Linked DNA regions of Homo sapiens: all the other regions are linked to region 1. The links are contacts of gene promoters, found by promoter capture Hi-C in blood cells and fetal thymus (Javierre and others, 2016). All regions are on one chromosome and are shown on one strand. The core of a region is centred on a gene start or on the middle of the fragment in contact, and the rest is flanking DNA. Distances in the headings are between cores, read along the strand shown.

Region 1 (2,668 bases), core at 1-2,500:
GTGAAGCAACATACATAGGCATCCCTATTCTCAAGCCCCAATTCATCAGTTTAGCGCCACTAAAGAAGAATTTAAATCTCCGGACCCTCATTTCCGTACTCCGATGAAGCTTTGCACTCGCGTTCCCGCACTACCCGGCCAGCCTCCCTCAGCTGGCAATTACAAGGTCCTTTGCTGCCCGGAGCACAAGAGTGCAACTCGCTACAGTGTTCACATGTTGCTCTCCGTCATCCCAGCATCTCCTCCCATTTCTGCGCACCTATCCCTTCATGAGCCCCCAAAAGAATTCGTATCCAGATGCCCATAGCTCAAATTAGAATACCCCTCATCTGACATTGCCAGGGCTTCCTGTACGACTTCCAAGAGAACACGCGATGCTAAGCGCTTCTGTCTCCGGAGACCAGCAACACACGCTCCCCACTGAGTTCGGTCTTCTCTCTCGCTCTCTCTCCGCGGAATGCCTACTTCGGGGCTACCCTTTGGCTAGGGAAGCCCAACCTTGCAACCTCTGCCCCGTGACCTCGCGAGCCCAGCACGCCGCTCAAGCTTAATTCAACCCATTCTTGGAGCTCGTGCTCTCGCTGCCCCTTGTTCCCGGTTCTCTTTGAAACCGCTTTCAGCCCCCGAGCCAGACCCCAGGTTAGATGAACGCCCACTTGCTCCGGCGGCAGCGCCTCCTCGGCCCCTTCCACAGCACTCAGCCCGGGGCAGTTCAGTTCCTCACCTAGCTTCGAGCGGGACTCCTCCAGTTTCTGGATCTGGTTTTCCAAGAAGAGCATCGCCACCGCGAAGGCCACCACCGCCAGCAGCTGCAACTTGGGCGGCATCATAATCCTGAGGAGCCCCATGAAACCCGCTGCTCGGGATCAAGACATACCGCGGGGGGCGGGGAGCGGGACCCCGGAGGCGAGAGAGACGCCGGGAGGAGCCCGCCGAGCCGGGAGCGAGGCAAAGAGAGAGCGACAGCGAGAGAACCACCGCAGCGACCCCCCTTCTCGCCTCTCCAGTCCCCCTCCCCCAGGCGCTATCACCAACGCCGCTGGTGTCCGCTTCTCCTCAGCCGACTAAACGGCCGCCCCCTCCAAAAGCCCGCGCAGCAAACAGCGCGAAGCGGCTGCCGGGCTCTCGCCTCCCTCTACTGCCTCAGTCCCCGACCCCCGCGCCCGCCTGCTTGCCCGCCTCCCTCTCTTCCTTCCTTCCCTCCCTCCTTTGCTCGCGGCCGCGCGCCCCTCCACCGGCGCTGCGGCTGCGCCGCCCTCATCCCCGCCCCCGCCCATCCCCCTCCGCCACCACGCGCACGCATCCGCGTACGCTGCTCGGCAACCAGAAGCCCCGCCCCTCCCCCCGTTCGGGTCCGCTTATTGGACGGAAGAGCCCCTGCGCTTCGCTCTTGGTTCGGTTTACGGTTGGTTTCCTCTGCCACAGAGCTCAATCAAGACGACATTCAATTGGGTAAACTTGGAGAAGAAGGCGGGGCTAAAACTGGCGAAGGCGTGGCTTCTTGGCTGCTTGACGAAGTGTCGTGAATAAAAGAAAGGAGACCGCAGAAGTAAAGAAGTGGGGAGTTTAGGCAAGTGCCTGATTTGGGTAATCGAAAGCACCCAGTGATTGTATTTGATGACTTTTAAGCTTTCATATGCCGTTATTTAATACCTGTCACTTCCAAATGAGAGATGTAAGGGCAACGGCCGTTAGCGTTCTGTTTTGGATCAGGCTCTGGAGTGGACGCCCCTAGCTTAGGGGTCCTTCTAGGCAGCCAGAAACCTGCGGAAAATGGTAGCGATGGCGGCTGGGCCGAGTGGGTGTCTGGTGCCGGCGTTTGGGCTACGGTTGTTGTTGGCGACTGTGCTTCAAGCGGTGAGTGTAGATCACCTTCGCAGCTGCCACAGGGAGAGTAGGAGTGATTGCAGCTGAGAAAGACGCAACATTCGGTCCTGGTTGAAAAGGGTGGGGAGGACTGCGCTTCCTTAATGACTGCTGCGGCCAGAATGCAACGTGGCTTAATTTCTCGGTTGATCCTTCTCCTTCCCCGCCTTGGGTTTCTAGCAGCAGTTTTCTCTTGATTTCAGATTGTCTTGGGTACGTAGCTTCTCTTATACGGCTCTTGCTAAAAACAATCTGTAAACCACACCAGGTGGGAGGGGGGAATAATAAAGCTTGGCAAGAAGTGGAGGTTGTTTTTAAATGGACAGAAATGCAAGAGACTCATGACGAGACTTCCAACTCTTAGAGGCAAGTCTTCAAGTCGTTGGTCCAGGCGAACAGTTTGTGTTTACCTCTCTCGCGCGCGTGCTCTCTCATTTTCACTACTTCTGTTAGTCTCTTAACTTCCGTTCTCCTCTGCTATTCATATACGGCTGGCTGCGCTTGAGTGCGATTTGTGCTTTTAAACAATGTTGTTGGAGTAAAAGGAGTTATCTATACCAAAGTATAATTCATTTTTGAAGTTAGTTTTTTAAATGATGTTCGTTGTCTTCTTTAAGGCAGCGTTTTTTATTTCATTTTTCTCTATTGGCAGAATAGATGGGTGACCTTTGAATGGGAAAAGTGTACTTTTAACTTATTTCTTCTCATATCCATGTTCTGCTGTGTGAATAGTAAAATTTTAGGCACAGTGCTGAAAGCTTTTACGTTTTTTTATCCTAGCTTAATTCTTCGGGTAGTCTCT
Region 2 (2,668 bases), core at 76-2,575, 4.6 Mb before region 1:
CCAGTGTCAATTTCTACATTTAAGCTTAAGGCAATGTGGTGAGTAGAGATAAGAACACAGATACAAAAGAGAAATTTAATTTGGGCATCATCAAATTTCTGCATTCTTAATTACCAATACTGAGACCATAGCAACTTCAACCGTAAAACAGGTTGTATTACAGTCTTCCAAATCGCAATTCAGTCCTACATTTAGATCATACGAAGCTCTGTTTTAACACTGTCCTATAGAAACATACAATTCACTTTATAAGATTCAATCTTATTTTTTGAGAGGAATTGAAAACACAGAATTGTTGCCTGAAAAATCTTTATAACTGTACATCTTTGGATTTAAACACGTACCTGCAAGTTTAAAATTCTGCTCGTTTTTTTTTAAAGAGCCTTCAGCCTGAAACCGGTCACGCTGGGGAGAAAAAGCCATTGGCTCATCCATCTGAATCCCCAAAGACGCCTCCATCACAAGCCAATTGAGATGCAAAATGCCAGCTAAGGGGTTACATCCACAGGGGGAGCAAAGCAGCTGTGAAAATTAGAACACTAGAGAAATTTAGATCACTCGCTAAACCACGCACTAAAAACATGCTACTGCCCCCCAAAGGGGCAAACATTTTCAAACGCACGATGTGTCCAAACCTCCACAGTAGGGCATACTGTGGCCTTGTCTAAGGAATTCCATGTGCTTTATTTTCACCTATCAGAAACACCGGCAGGGGGCTGCAGGGAGAATTTCCCGGCTTGGGCACCCGCGCAGCAGCAGGCGCAGTGGGAAACGGCGAGGCTGCCAGTCCGGCACAGCCAGCGGGACCGCGTGGGGGAGGGGCCGAGCGCCGGGGGCGGTTTGAAGTCAGGAAAAGAACTGAGGGAGAAAACCTTTTCGCCACTGACAGGAAGCGCCAGGAGGCTCGTCCAAGGCCCCAAGCAAGTTGACGGAGAACTGATACGACCCTGGCCACGAGTACTGGGCGGAGGAGGAGAAGGGTGAATGAATGGGAATCCGCCGGCCAGCGCTGGCCGCGAGCTCAGCCGGGAAGGACCGGCTTCCCTCGGGCCAGAGACCGAACCAGATGCTTAGTGCGCAGGCGCGCGACTTTCCCGCCGCAGGTCGGAGGGATCCGAAGGGGGGCGGGAAAAGGAACTGCACGGCGAGAAAACCGAAGTCACGATCCAGAATTCGTTCCTAATCCCTCACAATCCCGCGCCATGGAACAAACCGTCGGAAACTCACGGTTTAAGGGAGTACGACTTCTGTGGCTCCCCAGATGCCTGGGTCGCCGTCTCCAAGAGATCCCCACCTACCGAGTCGATCGGATGCGCCTGCGCAACACTTCCCGCCGCCGCTCTGGTTGCACATGCGCACACTAAAGCCCTCGACCCCGCGGATTCCGCTACTGGGCGTTTGCGCAAGAGGGTGGGGTTTCTTCCCGCCGCCTTGGCCAGCTAGAAGAGCGGTTACGGGAATGAAGCCCGTGGATGATCTTAAAAAACAGGGTGAACCATAAGGCTAAGGGCCCAGCATGATTTCCAGGAAAGAAGCTAGCTCAGAGAAGGAAAAATCTCAGGTGCTGACACATCCCTATATACGTGGCCGGCCGCACAACACATTGGGCACTCCATGGATAAAAGGCACTTTCTTGACTCTGCTTTTATTTCCTTTTCGTTGAGTGCCCTACTTCCCCGTTAAAAACAAGCAGAAAATGTAATTGCTGATTGTTTGTGGCTGTGTTAGTAGAAATTAGCACAGTGGCAGGAAGGCAGTGTATACTATTTACTGAGCCCTTGGCTATGAGGTAGGTGGGTTTTTCTAGGGGCTGGAATCATAGTGAGCAAGATAAACACCATCCCTGTAGGAAGCTAAATTCCAATGAAGCGATGACAATAACGGATGAATAAATGAACAGTATTCTTTCCGGCATTGATTACTACTTGAGGGAAATACTGACCAGGAAGGTGGCATCTAGATGGTCAGGGAAGCCCTCTCAAAGAGACCTGGATGAGAAAGAGCTGGTAGGGAGACTGTTGTCCTGGCAAAGAAAGGATAGGGCAAATGCAGAGAGAAAGAGGAACTTGGTATGTTGCAGGGGCAGGGCAGGAAAGGCCAGTGTGGGGGAAGCATAGTGAGTGAGCCGCAAGATAGTCCCAGATAGATGAAGGTGGAGAGTTAGGCAGAAGCCAGACCAGGGTCCTTGAAAGCCAGGGTAAGAAGTTTAGTGTTTGTTCTGAGTACAATTGGAAGCTATTTGAAAGTTTTAAAGCAAGGGAGTAATATGATCTATCTGTTATGAAGAGAATGGATTGTAGAGGGGCAAGTGTGGAAGCAGAGGAAATAGGATGCACTTTATGTTTAGGAGAAACATAATGGTAGTTTGGACCAGAACAATGGCGGAAGAAATAAAAGAAAGAAGACAATGGGATTTGGTGATTGGCTATGGAAAATGAAGAAAAGGGCATCATCAACAGTGAATCTTAGGTTTTGGGCTAGCATATGTGTGGGTGGTAGTGCCACATAGAAGGGAAGTCTGTGAGGTAATGGTTTTTGATTGAGTGAGGTGGAAGAGAGTAAATCAAGGATTCTAGTGTGGATACCGAGAAAGAGAAAAGCAGACCTTGACATCCAGGAGATGGCCTGGTACTACCAGCTTGGTTTGCTGTTGCTTTGAGCTGGCCTG
Region 3 (2,668 bases), core at 81-2,580, 4.1 Mb before region 1:
TTGTTGAAAAGACTATCCTTCTCTATTGAATTGCCTTTGCACCTTTGCTGAAATTTAATTGACCATGTAATTGTGGGTCTATTTCTGGACCCTCTATTTTCTTTTATTGATCTATTTGCCTATCTTAATGTTAATACCACACTATCTTGATTACTATTTTCCATGCTGGCCATGTCATAGACCACTTGCCAGCCTATGGATTAGTTTCCTTCGGATCAGGTGCCCATCCCGTGTCCAGTCAGATGTAGCTAAGTGTTGGGGAGAGCAGTTTTGCAGAGTGCAAAGCAGGGCTGCTGAGCACTACCTCTCCATGCAAGCTGAGGGCAGGGCAGCTTCCTGTAACATGTGCTATGATTATGCAGGTACAAGCTGCATAAATAACCTACTCTTCTCTCTGCATCCAGTTTTACCTCTTCAATACATTGTATATATTTCTAAAGTGCAAATTTTACCATTTAATTTCCTTTTAAGATCCCTCAATGGTTTCCCATTGCCCTTAGGATCAAGTCCAAGTTCCTTGTCCTTAGCAATCCAACTTCTGCTTCTCTTTCCAGTTTCATTTCTTACCACACTTACTCTTGCCACTTCTTGCATGTATACTCTGGTTTTGTGAATTACTTACCATTCCCTAAACATGGCATACTCTCTTGTACTTCTTATACTTTTTTCATGTTTCCCTCTGCGAAGAATATCTTTACCCCTACTCTTTCCCCCCAACTAGATTTTAAAAGTCTTTTAGGTCTTCACTAGTCTCAGTGGCTCATGCCTGTAATCCCAGCACTTTGGGAGGTCTAGGTGGGTAGCCCAGGAGTTCAAGACCAGCCTGGGCAACATGGCAAAACCCCAACTCTACAGAAAAATTTAAAAATTAGCTGGGCGTGGTGGCGTGTGCCTATAGTCCCAGCGACTCAGGAGGCTGTCATGAGGATTGATTGAACCTGGGAGGTCGAAGCTGCAGTGAGCCATGATCATGCCACTGCACTCCAGCCTGGGTAACAGAGAGAGATGCTATCTTTAAAAAAAAAAAAAGGAAAAAAAAAGTATTTTATGTCTTCTCTTAGATATGACATCGATTTAATTTAACAAATTTTTATTAAGCAACTAATGTGAGCTAAGAAATGCCCTGCACTGTAAGAAACAAGATTAATAGGGCCCTTATCTTCACGTAGCATAGAGTCTAGAGGAGGAGGTAGTCATTAAACAAGTAATTATAGTAAAATCCACATGTACAATAATGTAGAAATAACATGGTGAAATTATGTTCCCTGACAATGCAAAACCAATTTTAATACATCTGGCTATTAATCCTGCCCTCTCCCCAGTTCCCGTTTTCAATGTGGTGGGTTAAAGTTCCTATCTTGGAGGGGAAGACAAGGTGAAGTGGACCTCTGCACACCCAGGAAGTGGGACTCTGCATTCCCAGTATTCTCCCAGCCCAATCTGCCTGTATTAGACAGATCAAATGGCTGTCAAGAAGCCCAGAGATTCCTGGAATCAGTGCTACGATTCTGTAATTCCCAGCTAGTCATAGAGCCTAGAGTTATCCCCTGTATATTTATTTAAGCTGGAGAAGTCAAGTACCAGCAGACGGCTCCGAACTCTAGCTGAGACCAGAATGGATTTTGGTCACACAGCCAGACACTTGGTGCTCTCCAGCAAACTATGTGGGATCACTCCAATCATTTCATTAATCTCATAATAATATGACCTTGTAATTTGTGAAACTGAATTTTTAGATTCTATTTGTTCAGTTATAGTGGGGTTTATGTACACATGAGATAAGTATAACAAAAGAAGCACTGAGTGGTTTTTGAGTATGAGGTAAGAGGGTGACGGAAAGTGGCTCTGACAGAAGCCCAGGTGAATCCAATCAGCCAATTACATTAATTGGGACTGCTGAAGTATCAAGGCAGGCCCACAATGGTTAACTTAAAATGCAGGTGGGGCCGGGCGTGGTGGCTCACGCCTGTAATCCCAGCACTTTGGGAGGCCGAGGCAGGTGGATCACTTGAGGTCAGGAGTTTGAGACCAGCTTGGCCAACATGGTGAAACCCCGTCTCTACCAAAAATACAAAAATTAGCCAGGCATGGTGGTGTTCACCTGTAATCCCAGCTACTCGCGAGGCTGAGGCAGGAGAATTGCTTGAACCCAAGAAGTGGAGGTTGCAGTGAGATTGCACCATTGTACTCCAGCCTGGGCTACAGAGTAAGACTCCTTCTCAAAAAAATAAAAAATAAAAAAATGAATGTATAGGCAGGCATATGCCAAGAAGGAAAGCATATATGTAAATATATGTACACATACTTATGTATATTATATTTATATATAAATATACATACATAAATATTTGTATATACATAATTTATATGTATATTATATACACACAGGTCTTATATGTATATATATTTGCATTTATATATGCATATATTGTGATTATCTATATATGCATACATGTAGATTATATATATGTATATACAAATATATGCATTTAAATATAAATTATATTTACATATATAATCTACATATATGTATATATAAATAGATAATCACAAATTGGCCTACATTTGGGTAACCTATAAAATTGGTCAAAGGATTGTTGATATTAGCTATCCAAAACTAAGGAACTTAATCAAAGGGATATTTAACTGAAACTTGAAGAATGAGTAG
Region 4 (2,668 bases), core at 90-2,589, 4.1 Mb before region 1:
TCTTCAAAATCTGTTAGTATTACATACTTAAAGCACATCTCAATTCAGACTAGCCAGAGTTCAGGTATTCAGTAGCCACATGAAGTTACTGTATTGGACAGTGCAATTACAGATAGTAAGTCCTATGGGGTATAGGGAAAGAATAACATAGAAATTGAACTGAACCGTAAAGGATAGCTGAGAACAGAAAATGCTTGAGAAGAATATTCCCATAAAGAAGTGATAGGAATTAAAACAGCAAATACAGTTTGATACCAGGTAATAGAGTGGCTTGAATCCAGTTTAGGGAATTTGGTTTGGGTGTGTATATGTGTGTGTGTGTGTGTATGTGTGTGTGTGTGTGTGTGTGTGTGTGTGTGAGAGAGAGATTGGAAATATATATTGGAGGGTGCCTAATTCGTGTCTCATACATGAGCACTTGATAAATACTGAATTAACTGGGTGCATTGGCTCATGCCTGTAGTCCCAGCACTATGGGAGGCTGAGGTCGGCAGATCGCCTGAGGTCAGGAGTTTGAGACCAGCTTGGCCAATATGATGAAATATCCCGTCTCTACTGAAAATACAAAAATTAGCTGGGCATGGTGGTGTGCACCTATAATGCCACCTACTTGGGAGGCTGAGGCGGGAGAATTGCTTAAACATGAGAGGCGGAGGTTGCAGTAAGCCAAGATCATGCCACTGCATCCCCACCTGGGCGACAGAGTGAGACTCAGTCTCCAAAAAACAAAAGAAAAAAGATAAATATTGAATTAATATTTAGAGAGAATTAATATGACACTACAGAAAATGCTGGAAAAAACATCCTAACAAAGCCTAGTCGATCTTCAAAAGGGAAAGTGTTTCATTTAGGGAATATTGATGTTCTGTGATTAACAATATGATGGAGATTGATAAAGAAGGATGAGAATTGAGAAAAGGTTTTTAGATTTAGCTATTAATTGGTTACTTGTTTTTAAGTATTTTTTTTAGGTATAACATACAGTGAAGTGCACAAATCTTAAGTACAACTCAGTGAATTTATACATATAAGTATACCTAGGTAACTCCCAGGTAGTGGGAGGTACTGGGTTACACCTGGGGAGAAGAGGATGTAAAAAAAGCACAGACATGAGAATTGTGGAATGCAAGCATTTTCCGTGATTAGAGCCTATTTTAAATGAAATACCCAGATAGAGATGTAGAATATTTTTCTTCACTGATTAAAGGTGCCTTGTGCTCCCTCCTATTAATTTCTCCCTACAGAAGTAACCACTATTTTAACCTCTAACCTCTATCACCATAAATTAGTTTTTGCTTGTTTCTTTTTCTTTTCCTTCCTTTTTTTTTCTTTTGAGACAGGGTCTCAGTCTGTCACCCTAGCTGGAGTGCATTGGCGCAATCTCAGCTCACTGCAGCCTTCACCTCCCAGGCTCAAGCGATCCTCCTCCTTCAGCTTCCTGAGTACCTGGAACTACAGGTGCATGCCATCATGCCTGGCTGATTTTTTTTTTTTTTCTTTCGGTAGTAGAGATAGGGTTTTACCATGTTGCCCGGGCTGGAGTTTTTGTTTCTAAACTTCTTATGGCATATTTGTCCTCCCTCCCAAGGGTAGTGAGAATTGATGCTTGAATCCATCTCTCTTTTCTTCTGTCCTTGTTTGGCATTGTTATGAATTGGGAGGTAAATCAGGTGATATTTGGTACTATGGCCCTTTTTTCCCCCCAGTGACAAAATCAGAGAGGTGCTTCTTAGTGTTCATTAATAGTAATCCTTTAGAGGTTAGTTTTATGACTTGATATTTTGTTTAGAATGCAGAGATTTGAATTTGCCTCCACCGATAACATAGTTGCCTGGCTTGCTGTCATTACAGTATTCTCTAGGCATATAGCCAGGAAGTAGGTGGAGGAAGTTGTGGATTGCCTCCTTATATAGATGGTTTTTGGAGCCTCTTTGATGGTAGCTTCCAGGCATTATGTCAGTTAGCTATTAGGCATTTTAGGTTGCTTATTAAGGTATTTGGGTATTTCTGATTGTAATTTTAGAGGTAGGAATAAATAGGTGTACTTTTTTTTTATAGGTAGGCATCTACCTGTTCAACAGAAAAGTAGAATATAACTAGAATGTTACCTTATGGACAGTTGCTTACAAGTGTGAATGGTTAAAGCCCATGTAGGAGACTTTATAAATGGAAAACTGAAATAGAATTGTTGATCATGATTTTTACTTTTAGTGCTTGAATCAGTTTTTTTCCCCCAAATGGAATTAATAGTTGTAGCATTATTTTTCGTAAATACTGAGCAGTAGAAACCTTATTGTAGTATAGCAGTATTAAATTGGTGCTTTGCAGATAAAGAATTTTTTCTGAAATGGGTATTATAATGTTGTTAAACGTATATAATAAAAAATATATCTTCACATTCTAGTATATCTGGTTTTGAAGAATGAATATGTAAATTGCGCAGAAATGGGTATGAAAAGACTTTCTCATTAACATTTGGATTGTGAATGCTCGAGTTTATAAATGAAAATATTTACTCTATATAAAGAAGTTTTGTCTTTTGGAATTTGTAATAAGTTCATTTAATATACTCTTGCTCCAGGGATTTCAGTATTTGTCTTGAAGAAATAATAAAATCTCACCTGTCAACTTTTCTTATTGTAGCTTTTGTGAAGTATAGAAGGCTAAA
Region 5 (2,668 bases), core at 56-2,555, 3.1 Mb before region 1:
TCAAGTCCTTCATATGTTTTTTAACCTGCATTAATTGTTCTGTGTTCTTTTTTTGTATTATTATCTTGTGTGGCAGGGCCCTAACTCTAATAACTATCAAAATGACATCCAATTGTATTCTACATACCTCTCATGATTCTATCTAGTTCTATAGTCACAAGTCTAATGTCATGCTCATGTCAATAAACAATCAAGCTTCTTCATGTGCTCCTCTAGACAGCTCTTTATATACTAACACATTTGGACACACTGAAGAAAATGACCTCAAAAACAAGGTCAAAATGCATTACAATACAAGCTATATAGAACCAAGCCAATAATCCACTTAGTCTACATTACTCAATACCAAAGCCTCTAATTCAACCAAAATAACTCAGCCAGTGTCTTGTGATTCATCACTCAGAATGTAGTTAGGCCCTTTGGAACACATTAAAATAATCATAATTCAAACAAAATGGACCAAAAAAAAAATCAAACTAATGTGAATAACCCCTAACATTTTCTGATAGCACATTCCCCAATTCAAATACTATATATAGTAAGACAATATTAACACATAAATGATATATCAAGAACCAAAACAAGGACTGAAATAGGTAGAACTGGCCTTTTACATTGATACTATATTTTTATGCGCATGAAGAGAAAAGCTGAAAGAGGATACTTACCATTAAAGCCCTGATAAGTATTCCTGCAGGCGGAGTGTGTGTAATCTATGAAGACACATTTAACAAAAAGGAATTAGTGTGATATTAGCAATAATTCAAAATTATATGCCGATCCAGTAAAAAACAAGCACAATTTTTAAAATGACATTAACCCAATTATCTGCAAAACTGAGAATAGTTAAAACAAATAATTACCAATACTCCATTCCAGAAAATGTATCTCTTTTTTCTTCACTATCTCCCCAAATGGTAGGTTTATTATCCAAATTATGGTAAACATTAGTTTACAACACCTGATACATAATAACAGCCAAAAGAGGGGATTCAGCACTGATTTGTACCAAGTAACACAAAGGCAGATAGATTAAATTATGTATCAAATAATGCAAAAGCAAAGACATCTGAGAATTGTACGTAACATGAAATTTTTGCTAAGTTAATTTCTTTTACCATTTAATTTGCTCTTTAAAGATTTCAAGATCTTGGCCGGGCACGGTGGCTCACGCCTGTAATCCCAGCACTTGGGAAGGTGAGGTGGGCGGGTCACGAGGTCAGGAGTTCGAGACCAGCCCGTCCAATATGGTGAAACCCTTTCTCTACTGGAAATATAAAAATTAGCCGGGCCTGGTGGTGCGTGCCTGTAGTCCCAGCTACTAGGGAGGCTGAGGCAGAAGAATCACTTGAATCCAGGAGGCAGAGGCTGCAGTGAGCCAAGACTGCACCACTGCACTCCAGCCTGGGCGACAGAACGAGACTCTGTCTCAAAAAAAAAAAGATTTCAAGATCTTATCTGAGACATGCATATGCATATACATATATGACTGTGTTCTATATTCAAGCAGAATGTGTCATCACTGAAAACCATATTGCCAATTTCCTCATCAAAACTAATTTAACAACTGTTAAATTCTTTAGTTAATTTTACAAATATATACTGAAAGAACAGAATTTAATATAGTGGTCATCTGGATACAACAGAATCCTGCTACACTATACAGGAATAGATTCATATATGGTGTTAGTCAAACTCCATCTTCCAAATACAGCAGTGGTATATTTGGGCAGTGAGACAGGGCGTATTTCATCACTAATATTGTTTAGAATTTCTATCACTGACACTGTTTAGAATTCTGGCATATGGCAATAACAGAAAGCAGACATACTACATTTTATTATTGTTTTTCAATTCTCCATAGAAATGGATTCCCTTATTGCCTTGGGTGGGGAGTGGAAAGAACTGTTTCTACTGCCCCACCTCCACTTTGTTAGCCTCTGCTATACCTTGGGTGTTGGCATTATCATCAAACTACAGCATGAAAATACAATAATATATTTTTTATTTTCACTCCCAACTCTGGCCACTTCAAATATTCATAGTTTTTTGTTTTGTTGTTGGTTTTTTGTTTTTTTTTTTTCAGACGAAGTTTGGCTCTTGTTGCCCAGGCTAGAGTGCAATGGCACGATCTCGGCTCACTGCAACCTTCGCCTCCCGGGTTCAAGGGATTCTTCTGCCTCCGCCTCCCAAAGTGCTGAGATTACAGGTGTGAGCCATCGTGCCCAGCCCAAATATTCATAGTTTAAAGGTATCTACATCAAAATGAGTTAAAGTCCAACCAAAACAAACAAAACCACGAGAGTGTGCTACTCTTAAGAGCTGAACTTACTATTTCAAAGTAACTGAAAAGTATCTACAAGAGGGCTATTCCAGTCCCCTTTCACAAATCTGTACCTAGATATGAAAGCTTTAATTCTTTGTTGCATGAAATGTTATGAAAAATCAAAAGCTCATCGAGTAAGACATATGCTGAGATCACACCTCATTTAAAGATCATTTTTTTGGTGGGGTTAAAAGTTTACAGCCTACTTAGTGAACTGGTTTTACTTAAGCATGCCTGGTTACTCAGGATTAAATCCAGTTTAATCACATAAGTCCTTTCCCATGTCTCCCTAATGTTGTCACTACATACCACTTTATCTTGACACCAATTCCAAGCAAGGTT

Evidence for each region. The method cuts DNA at HindIII sites, captures the fragments that hold promoters and counts their contacts. A CHiCAGO score of 5 or more calls a contact.
Region 2: a contact is called between the fragment with the promoter of CDC7 here and the fragment with the promoter of HS2ST1 in region 1, in 1 of 17 cell types (activated CD4 T cells). The highest score is 5.5, in activated CD4 T cells.
Region 3: a fragment that was not itself captured here is called in contact with the fragment with the promoter of HS2ST1 in region 1 in 1 of 17 cell types (non-activated CD4 T cells); the score reaches 6.5 in non-activated CD4 T cells.
Region 4: a fragment that was not itself captured here is called in contact with the fragment with the promoter of HS2ST1 in region 1 in 1 of 17 cell types (total CD4 T cells); the score reaches 5.3 in total CD4 T cells.
Region 5: a fragment that was not itself captured here is called in contact with the fragment with the promoter of HS2ST1 in region 1 in 7 of 17 cell types (total CD8 T cells, naive CD4 T cells, fetal thymus and 4 more); the score reaches 13.2 in total CD8 T cells.

What each region holds. Positions count from the first base shown.
Region 1 is chr1:86,913,217-86,915,884 of GRCh38, reverse strand. HS2ST1 (heparan sulfate 2-O-sulfotransferase 1) reads right to left here and starts at 1,250. Exons shown (of 7, transcript NM_012262.4): 1 at 725-1,250. The coding sequence starts at 848. It overlaps SELENOF (selenoprotein F), which reads left to right and starts at 1,759. Exons shown (of 5, transcript NM_004261.5): 1 at 1,759-1,857. The coding sequence starts at 1,774. RefSeq lists enhancers at 1,510-1,629, 1,680-1,839, 1,233-1,847, 1,950-1,999, 1,848-2,462. The HindIII fragment of the contact is 1,083 bases long and covers 549-1,631 here.
Region 2 is chr1:91,499,508-91,502,175 of GRCh38, reverse strand. It overlaps CDC7 (cell division cycle 7), which reads right to left and starts at 1,325. Exons shown (of 12, transcript NM_003503.4): 1 at 1,228-1,325; 2 at 345-522. The coding sequence starts at 459. It overlaps LOC105378856 (a long non-coding RNA gene), which reads left to right and starts at 1,328. Exons shown (of 3, transcript XR_947599.4): 1 at 1,328-2,668. RefSeq lists an enhancer at 484-683. The HindIII fragment of the contact is 5,865 bases long and covers 27-2,668 here.
Region 3 is chr1:91,029,159-91,031,826 of GRCh38, reverse strand. No RefSeq gene overlaps it. Among named protein-coding and RNA genes, the nearest start is that of ZNF644, 8.5 kb to the right of the region's middle. The HindIII fragment of the contact is 3,917 bases long and covers 1-2,668 here.
Region 4 is chr1:91,011,143-91,013,810 of GRCh38, reverse strand. The region is part of intron 1 of ZNF644 (zinc finger protein 644); the gene reads left to right. Among named protein-coding and RNA genes, the nearest start is that of ZNF644, 9.6 kb to the left of the region's middle. The HindIII fragment of the contact is 3,689 bases long and covers 1-2,668 here.
Region 5 is chr1:89,996,155-89,998,822 of GRCh38, reverse strand. ZNF326 (zinc finger protein 326) reads right to left here. Exons shown (of 12, transcript NM_182976.4): 2 at 669-713. Among named protein-coding and RNA genes, the nearest start is that of ZNF326, 2.4 kb to the right of the region's middle. The HindIII fragment of the contact is 2,215 bases long and covers 198-2,412 here.